Regions from separate parts of the Homo sapiens genome. Here region 1 is linked to region 2. Evidence: promoter capture Hi-C in 16 types of primary human blood cells and fetal thymus (Javierre and others, 2016). All regions are on one chromosome and are shown on one strand. Each heading gives the region's core, a stretch centred on a gene start or on the middle of the fragment in contact. The rest is flanking DNA. Distances are from core to core; before and after follow the strand shown. Region 1 overlaps YWHAZ (tyrosine 3-monooxygenase/tryptophan 5-monooxygenase activation protein zeta). Region 2 holds the start of UBR5 (ubiquitin protein ligase E3 component n-recognin 5).

Region 1 (3,861 bases), core at 822-3,321, 1.5 Mb before region 2:
CGACATACTTCTTTGAGTTTGAAAGAGGCTTCCTAGACTGTATTTCCTTGGTATTCATTTCATCATGTGCAAGATAAAAACTACCCAATTTTTGGCTGCCATCTTTCAGGTTTAAAGAGGTACTAGTGTTGAGTCCCTCCCCAACTACCAAGAGAGCTTTTGTCTAAGCATCTGGCAGGAAAGGCAGATTGCATTAGTTCACATATTGCAGTTTGAAATTAACACGTGGAAGAGAAGAAACCCAAGTTCTTTTACATAATGCAAAGTCCACATTGTGAAGAGCATGCCAGTGACCACTTCCCGCCATAATGCTCTATTTACTCTTGTAATATGCAACATGGTCCAAGCTCTTTGCTTATTAAATGGTTAAACAATAGATAAATACATATAACCAGAATGGGTTACTAAAGAGCTCTTCAGAAAAACTCAGAACTTTGGAGATTAGCTGCTTTTTGTAGGAAGAAAGTTTATTTTCATAGCTATTATAAAATAGGTGCTCAATATAAAAAATCTGGTTATCACTAATGCCACAAGCCAATACTATTATTTCTGCAAAGGGACACCTGCTTATTTTTCTCAAATTAAAAAATATATATATCAAAGCCCAGAAAAGGCTGGAGTAATAAAAAATTATAATTGATTTTTTATCATGTAAGATCTTAAAAATATAATTTAAAATATTTTTACTAATCATTAATAATGATTCAATAACTTTTTCTAGTAGAAATATCAGTTCTGCTACATTTTATTCTTCCATCTCACAGAAAGGGCAGAAGGAATTTTATGCAATATGTTTCCAGAGTCGATGTGACCTATTTGAAAAAGATGGTAGGAAAAAGAAGCCTATTATCGGTAAATATCAAATTTTCCCAAGCAGAAAAAGAAAAAGCTAGGGAAATTTTGCAGTGCTGCTGACCTAATTCTATGCTCTTTCTCTAAAGAAGCCTTTCTGCTTGTTTAACAAATATTTGAGCATCTATTACACGTTGAGTATGCAAAGATCACTAAGTCTTACTCCTGAAAAGACCAAGGCTGGAAGCAAAAGCTTGTTTAGAATTCTCTTCAAAGCCATTTGTATAGTAAAGAAATTAAACTCTCATTTATCCAAACTTTCAAAGTGTAAATACCATTAAAACTTTTTGGGAAGCCAGTGCTATTCTGGAGGGTAACGATGTGGGTAGGGACCAGAGTGAACTTCCTTAATAATCATAACAAGAAGAAACTATTTATATGAAGAGATTATCTTGTTATCCTCATCTACTGGTTCTATGCAAACAAAGTTTCTTCATAAGGAAACTAAAGGGAAGCATAGTCAAAACTGCTACAAGTTGGGCTGGACGTGGTGGCTCACTCCTGTAATCCCAGCACTTTGGGAGGCCAAGGCGAGTGGATCACCTGAGGTCAAGAGTTAGACGTGACCTGGTCACCAGCCTGGCCGACAAGGTGAAACCCCATCTTTACTAAAAGTACAAAAATTAGCTGGGCGTGCTGGTGCACGCCCAGTAATCCCAGCTACTCGGGAGGTCAAGGCAGAAGAATTGCTTGAACACGGGAGGCGGAAGTTGCAGTGAGCTGAGATGGTGCCATTGCACTCCAGCCTGGGTGACAAGAGCAAAACTCAGTCTCAAAACAAACAAACAAACAAACATACACAAAAAACAAACCTGCTACAAGTCTTTTCCTTGGAAAAGACTCACAATGACAGGAACTTTTATACTTTGTATATGGAAAACATGCACATACCTACCTGGTATTGCAAATAAGCGTGTTAGTAAAAGGTAAATGTTACATTCCTTTTTATTCCTAAAATTGACTTTTGTCTTAAGGGAAATGTTAATGTGTAACACACCCTTTGAAGCCAAAATAAAAACTTTTCGATCAGGTGTAATAATTGGGAAAAACACTCCAGACTGAACAAAACTGAATTACACATACACAGATATTAGTTAGTAAGGTGAGCAAAAAAAAAAAACAAAAAAAACAAAAAAACCCAATACATTTTTTATTATAGAAAAAAAAAATCACATTTTCAAAATTTAAATATTTGGCCGGGCGCGGTGGCTCAAGCCTGTAATCCCAGCACTTTGGGAGGCTGAGGAGGGCGGATCACGAGGTCAGGAGATCGAGACCATCCTGGCTAACATGGTGAAACCCCGTCTCTACTAAAAATACAAAAAAATTAGCCGGGCGCAGTGGCAGGCGCCTGTAGTCTCAGCTATTCGGGAGGCTGAGGCAGGAGAATGGCGTGAACCCGGGAGGCGGAGCTTGCAGTGAGCCGAGATCGCGCCACTGCACTCCAGCCTGGGCAACAGAGCAAGACTCCGTCTCAAAAAAAAAAAAAAACAAAAAACAAAATTTAAATATTCTTATTACCTTAGCAAAATCACAAAACAGACATTTGTCACTTGGCCCCAATAAAAGCAAGATATTCCTTTTTTCAACTTAGATACAAATAGTAGCTATCATTCTAAAGGTTTCAATAAGCAAAGAACAAAAAAATGCCCCAAGACAGATGCCTCATTGAGTTTGTGGCTGTGAACCCAAATAAGCATGTTTAAAAAATCACTATTCTTTAAAAAGACAGTGTCAAGTAAGTATCATTTGAGAAAATTACAGTTTAGGAACTGATGCTATTCCATTAGTAAATACAAATGTAAAGAAATGATAGTATCATCACAACTTTAACAAAAACCCCAAACCCACAACCACATCAGACATTATCCTATTGCTCATTATAGCACTTCTTCCATAAACAAGGTTCATATAGTAAGTAACAAACCTGGATTTCCATACTGAGTTCCAGATTCAGTAATCTGTCCAGAAAAATCGAGATGCTGCCCCTCTTTGTATATCAGAGCCCTTCCATACTGGTTAAGTGTAACCATTTAGTAAAACCACTTTAAATATTATTCCAAAAACTGCCAGCTTGGTTGGATTCTCTACTGGTTTATCCTCAAATTTAAACTATTCTTGATCAAAAAGCCCTACTTTATATGACAGATTAAAATTAACCAAAATGTAGTTTAATTCTTTTAAGCGCAGTGCTTCAACACAGTAAGTACTGAATACTTAAAATACTCGATTCAAACTGGAAAATCAAGCTTGAGTTGTTCATAACCTTTCATCATGGTTGTGAGTGTTCAAAATTTACCTTCAAGAATTCAATGCAGGAAGAGGTTTCATAGTTGTGACGCCAGAGTTTTCTGCATGGTTGACTCATTACATTAACATTATAGCGGCTAATCCTGAGAAGAGTACTATTTCTACAATGAGTATCCTATTACATCTCTCTTACCTAAAGTATGTAAAATTCCTTTATCCACAGATGTACATTTAAGATAACCAGCTATAGAGCTACTACAAATATTCTAACCATAAGTAAAACAGTAACACAATTAGTTTATATTTTCAATTAATATAAAATACAATACTAAAGTCTGTTATTTTTAACAAAACTGAACTGTTTCATAATCATTGTTGCAATTATTTTACATACACGTATCTATAATTGTCTTAACATCTTTTTAGTCATGACACCATGAAGACTTTTAAATTTGGAACACACAATGTTTAGAAGGAAAAGAAAAACCAAACAAAAAGTTAAGAGTAATGTAACTGATACTCATAGGGACCCTACAGTATAATGAAGCCAGACTGAATTGATTCTCACCAGTACATCATTGCAGATATCTCTTAGCTCCGTCTCAATTTTCTCTCTGTATTCTCGAGCCATCTGCTGTTTTTTCTCAGCACCTTCCGTCTTTTGTTCAATACTTGAGACGACCCTCCAAGATGACCTACGGGCTCCTACAACATTTTTATAAGCAACTGAGAGAAGATTCCTCTCCTCATTGGATAATT
Region 2 (3,821 bases), core at 1,021-3,520:
GTTTCTAAATTTTACCAAAAAATTTTATGTTAATGTCTCCAAAAGATCTTTAATGAAGTAAAGTCAGGCTAAGAACCACATAACAAAATGTTAAATAACTAAAAAGTTATTTCAGAATTTAAAGGAACTATGTGACAACTCTGAGTAGTTAGTATTTTCAGTAAGTATTTCAAAAGATTCCCAAACATGTTAAATACAATATGGCTACAGCAAAGATTAGGCAAATCCGAACCAAGTGCAGAAACTAAACCGCCAGCTCTGGATTTAAAAGCTGTCTGCTCCACTTGAGGCGGTTAGATACACTGACACAAGAGGCCAGTATCTCAGCAGCAAGTTAGGCCTCTTCCTCCCTCTGGGAAGCGCATGACAAACAGGGCATCATGCAACTTAAGTCACCCGGTCACTTAGCAAAAATTCTATGTAACTTCTAAACTTGGGACCAGATGGCCTTCTATACGCAAAAGAAATGTAGAGAGCAGTGAAGTACTGGGAGAGAGGAAGACTTAAAATGCTCCACTTTGTGATCCTGTAAACATTTAGCCCATCATTAGATCTGAGTCTTAGATTCTAAGACATGCTTTAATGGAGGCCTCCCTCAACCTCCTGAGTCTGTTTTCCAACAGTGAAGGAACTTTTCCTGCCTTATCTCAGTTCCCTGAGAGCATGCGGCACTGCAATTCAATATCCTAAACTGGCAAGGAACGGTGGCGGAAGAAAAGGAGAAATCCAAACCAAAACAGCCTATAAAAGACAAAACATAAAATAAAATCATAATTCATCCTCCGCCCATAGCAAACCCAACCCAGAAATTTACAGCGTGTTAAGAAAAGCAGCATTGCGAACTGCAAACGTAAGAGTTTTCCTTTGACACTCTACGCACGGTTTTCAGCTGTCAAATTACAACTCAGGAAAACACTATCATTAGAATAGAAAAGGAAACAAAAAAGCTCGCACCACAGGGGCTAGTAGCAGGAGCTGCCAGCACCATTTCAGGAGGAGAGTAAAGGGAATCCAATGCACTTCCCCACCCCCGCTTGAATCCATCCCCTCCCGGGGCAGGCAAACCTCACTGCAGGGGCTCAAATTTAATAATAATAACAATAATCATGGCGCTTCCTCCCTCACTCCCTCCCCCAACTATCACCTTCCCCCCACCCCCCGCCCGCTCCCAGCAATCTGCCGGGAATCGGCTTCTCTCCCCAACCCGACCCCGGGATCCCCAGGTCCAGACCACCCCACCGGACACAGCTGCCGGGGGCCCGGGACAAGCCCAGCCCAGCCCACCCCGGGGCCCCTGGCCCCGCTTCTCCTCTTCCCTCTCTTTTTACCTCCACCATCCCCCATCCGCATTGTCTGTCTCAATTCAACTTTGACTAATATGGATTCCTCGGGCCTTGGCCGGGCAGTAATTACCGCCTGCCCCCCGGGAGCCAGAAACCACCCCCCCATCTCCGCCGAGTTCAACGCCGCTCCTTGCGGGAGGGGGAAGGGGGTTTACAGAGCGCTCTCCAGTCTACACCGCGAGTCCCGTCTACACCGCGCTCCCCCCGCGGCCCCCTGCCCCCGGGATGAGAAGTTTGCCCCGGAAGGAGCCTAGCAGGAGGCAGTAAGGACCCCCGCACCCCACCCCAGCTGGCCGGCCGGCGCGTAAACACCCGCACCCGCCCGGCACGGCCCGTGGGGGAGGGGAGGGAGGGAAGGGCGCCCCTCCCCCCGCGCCCGCCGACCCGCCAGCCCTATTACCTGTCATTGAGCTGGTCCTCGGTGCCCGGCAGCGGGTGAACCACGAAATGGATGGACGTCATGGTGCTTTCCTTCTCGTCCTCCACTCGAGGGCGGCCCCCTCCCGCTCTCGCCCGCCCCCCAGCCCTCTACCCCTCCCCAAAACCCACAGCCGCCGCCGCCTCCCAGTCCCCAAATGGAGGGAAGCAAATACGCAGGGGCCGCCGCCGCCTCCCTGCCGGGCGTGTGTCCGCGGCCCGGAGGGGCGGGCAGGAGGGCGAATCCACACGCCACCCGCTCCCCCGGCGACAGCGCGGAGTGCGAGGCAGGCGGCCGGGACCAGGGGCGCGCCGCCGGCCAGCGGCAGACGGGCGTTGGGAGAGGGGCGGCCGGGGGAGGAGAGGGGCGGCTGCTGGCTGCGGGCTACGGGGACGGTCTGGTCCCGGCGGCGGACGGGGTCCGGACTAGGGGAGGTGAGGAAGGAGGGGAAGGAGATGAGCCCGCACCGCGCGTCACTAGCGAGAAGCTGCCGCCGCCATCTTCACTTCTGCCCCAGTTTCTCCGTCTCGCAGGCTCCGCTCCGGAGCGGCGGGGGAGGGGCAAACGGGAGGAGGAGGAGGGAGGAGACCGGCGGGCGGGGGCGCGGCGGCGAGAGGCGGGGCTCCGGGAAACGGGCGGCAAGGCCCCCTCGATTGGGCTGCTCAACGTTGTCGGGCCACGACGCTGTAAGGCGCGTGCCGATTGGTCCGTTCGGCTCCCGAGCCCAGCCCCGCCGGGGGTGGGATGTCTCCAGAGTGAGTGTTCCGGAGAGCACGTGTTAGGGAAGGAGGAGGCTGCGGGCTAACCTGCCGGGAGGGAGGGTAAGTGTGTGTCCCAGAGGAGGCGAGGAGGAAGAGGGGCTCTTGTGTTCTTTCGCTCGGATTCCCCTGGGGCAGCCCTAATTATTTGGCGGATCCTTAGGGGTTTCTTGTTGCTTCTCATCCTTCATCCGCAGTTGTATTTATGGTGAAGTTGGTAAAATCAGTTAAGGGGCAAGACATATACAGCCTTTTATTGGAAAAGTAAGGAAATTATGTAAGGGCCTTTCCAGAAGGAGATAGTAGGATCCTGGAGTTGGCTTTGCAGCAACTTCTATTACCTCGGTCTCCCCAGTTTCCTCACCACCATCACATGCCCAAAGACAAAATGTGGAAATTTCCACTAATTTCCTGATATAAATGATTCGTGATTTTTTATTACTTTTAAATGAAAGATGATAAACCTGTTCTACAAAGGAGTTCAATTTATGATCAGTGGAATCAGAACGGAAAATTATTATTTTTTTTTTTTTTTTCCCCGAGACGGAGTTTCGCTCTTGTTGCCCAGGCTGGAGTGCAATGGCGCGGTCTCGGCTCACCTCAACCTCCGCCTCCCGGGTTCAAGCGATTTTCCTGTCTCAGTCTATGGAGTAGCTGGGATTACAGGCATGTGTCACCACGTCCGGCTAATTTTGTATTTCTTTTTTAGTAGAGATGTGGTTTCACCATGTTGGCCAGGCTGGTCTCGAACTCCTGACCTCAGGTGATCCACCCGCCTCGGCCTCCCAAAGTGCTGGGATTACAGGCCTGAGCCACCACGCCTGGCCGAGATAGGATCTTTTATACCGAGTTTCTACTATAAGACACTTTCAGAGTTTTGGCCACGGCGCACAGTGGCTCACGCCTGTAATCCCAGCACTTTGGAAGGCCGAGGATGTCGGATCACCTGAGGTTGGGAGTTCGAGACCAGCCTAGCCAACTTGGTGAAACCCCATCTCTACTAAAAATGCAAAAATTAGCCAGGCATGGCTGTGCGCGCCTGTAAACCCCACTACTCAGGAAGCTGAGGCAGAAGACTTGCTTGAACCTGGCAAGTTGCAGTGAGCTGAGATCATGCCACTGCACTCCAGCCCGGGCAACAGAACGAGACTCCATCTCAAAAAAAAATTTTTTTTAATCAAATAAGTCTGTTTTTTTTTCCCTAAGGAACCAATTCATGACTTTCTTCTCAAAGGTTTCTATGACCTCCTTTAAAAAATAAAGTACCTCTTCGAAGGCAAAAACTGAGAACATGACATTCCT

What was found. The method cuts DNA at HindIII sites, captures the fragments that hold promoters and counts their contacts. A CHiCAGO score of 5 or more calls a contact.
Region 1: a contact is called between a fragment that was not itself captured here and the fragment with the promoter of UBR5 in region 2, in 1 of 17 cell types (fetal thymus). The highest score is 7.7, in fetal thymus.

What each region holds. Positions count from the first base shown.
Region 1 is chr8:100,944,926-100,948,786 of GRCh38, forward strand. It overlaps YWHAZ (tyrosine 3-monooxygenase/tryptophan 5-monooxygenase activation protein zeta), which reads right to left. Exons shown (of 6, transcript NM_145690.3): 2 at 3,671-3,861. Among named protein-coding and RNA genes, the nearest start is that of YWHAZ, 5.2 kb to the right of the region's middle. The HindIII fragment of the contact is 2,056 bases long and covers 1,044-3,099 here.
Region 2 is chr8:102,410,430-102,414,250 of GRCh38, forward strand. UBR5 (ubiquitin protein ligase E3 component n-recognin 5) reads right to left here and starts at 2,271. Exons shown (of 59, transcript NM_015902.6): 1 at 1,744-2,271. The coding sequence starts at 1,805. LOC105375683 (a long non-coding RNA gene) reads left to right here and starts at 1,910. Exons shown (of 5, transcript NR_168428.1): 1 at 1,910-2,582. RefSeq lists enhancers at 493-552, 663-1,441, 1,442-2,220, 2,595-2,864, 3,426-3,535 and 2 more and silencers at 1,635-2,074, 2,135-2,214, 2,245-2,444. The HindIII fragment of the contact is 11,584 bases long and covers 1-3,821 here.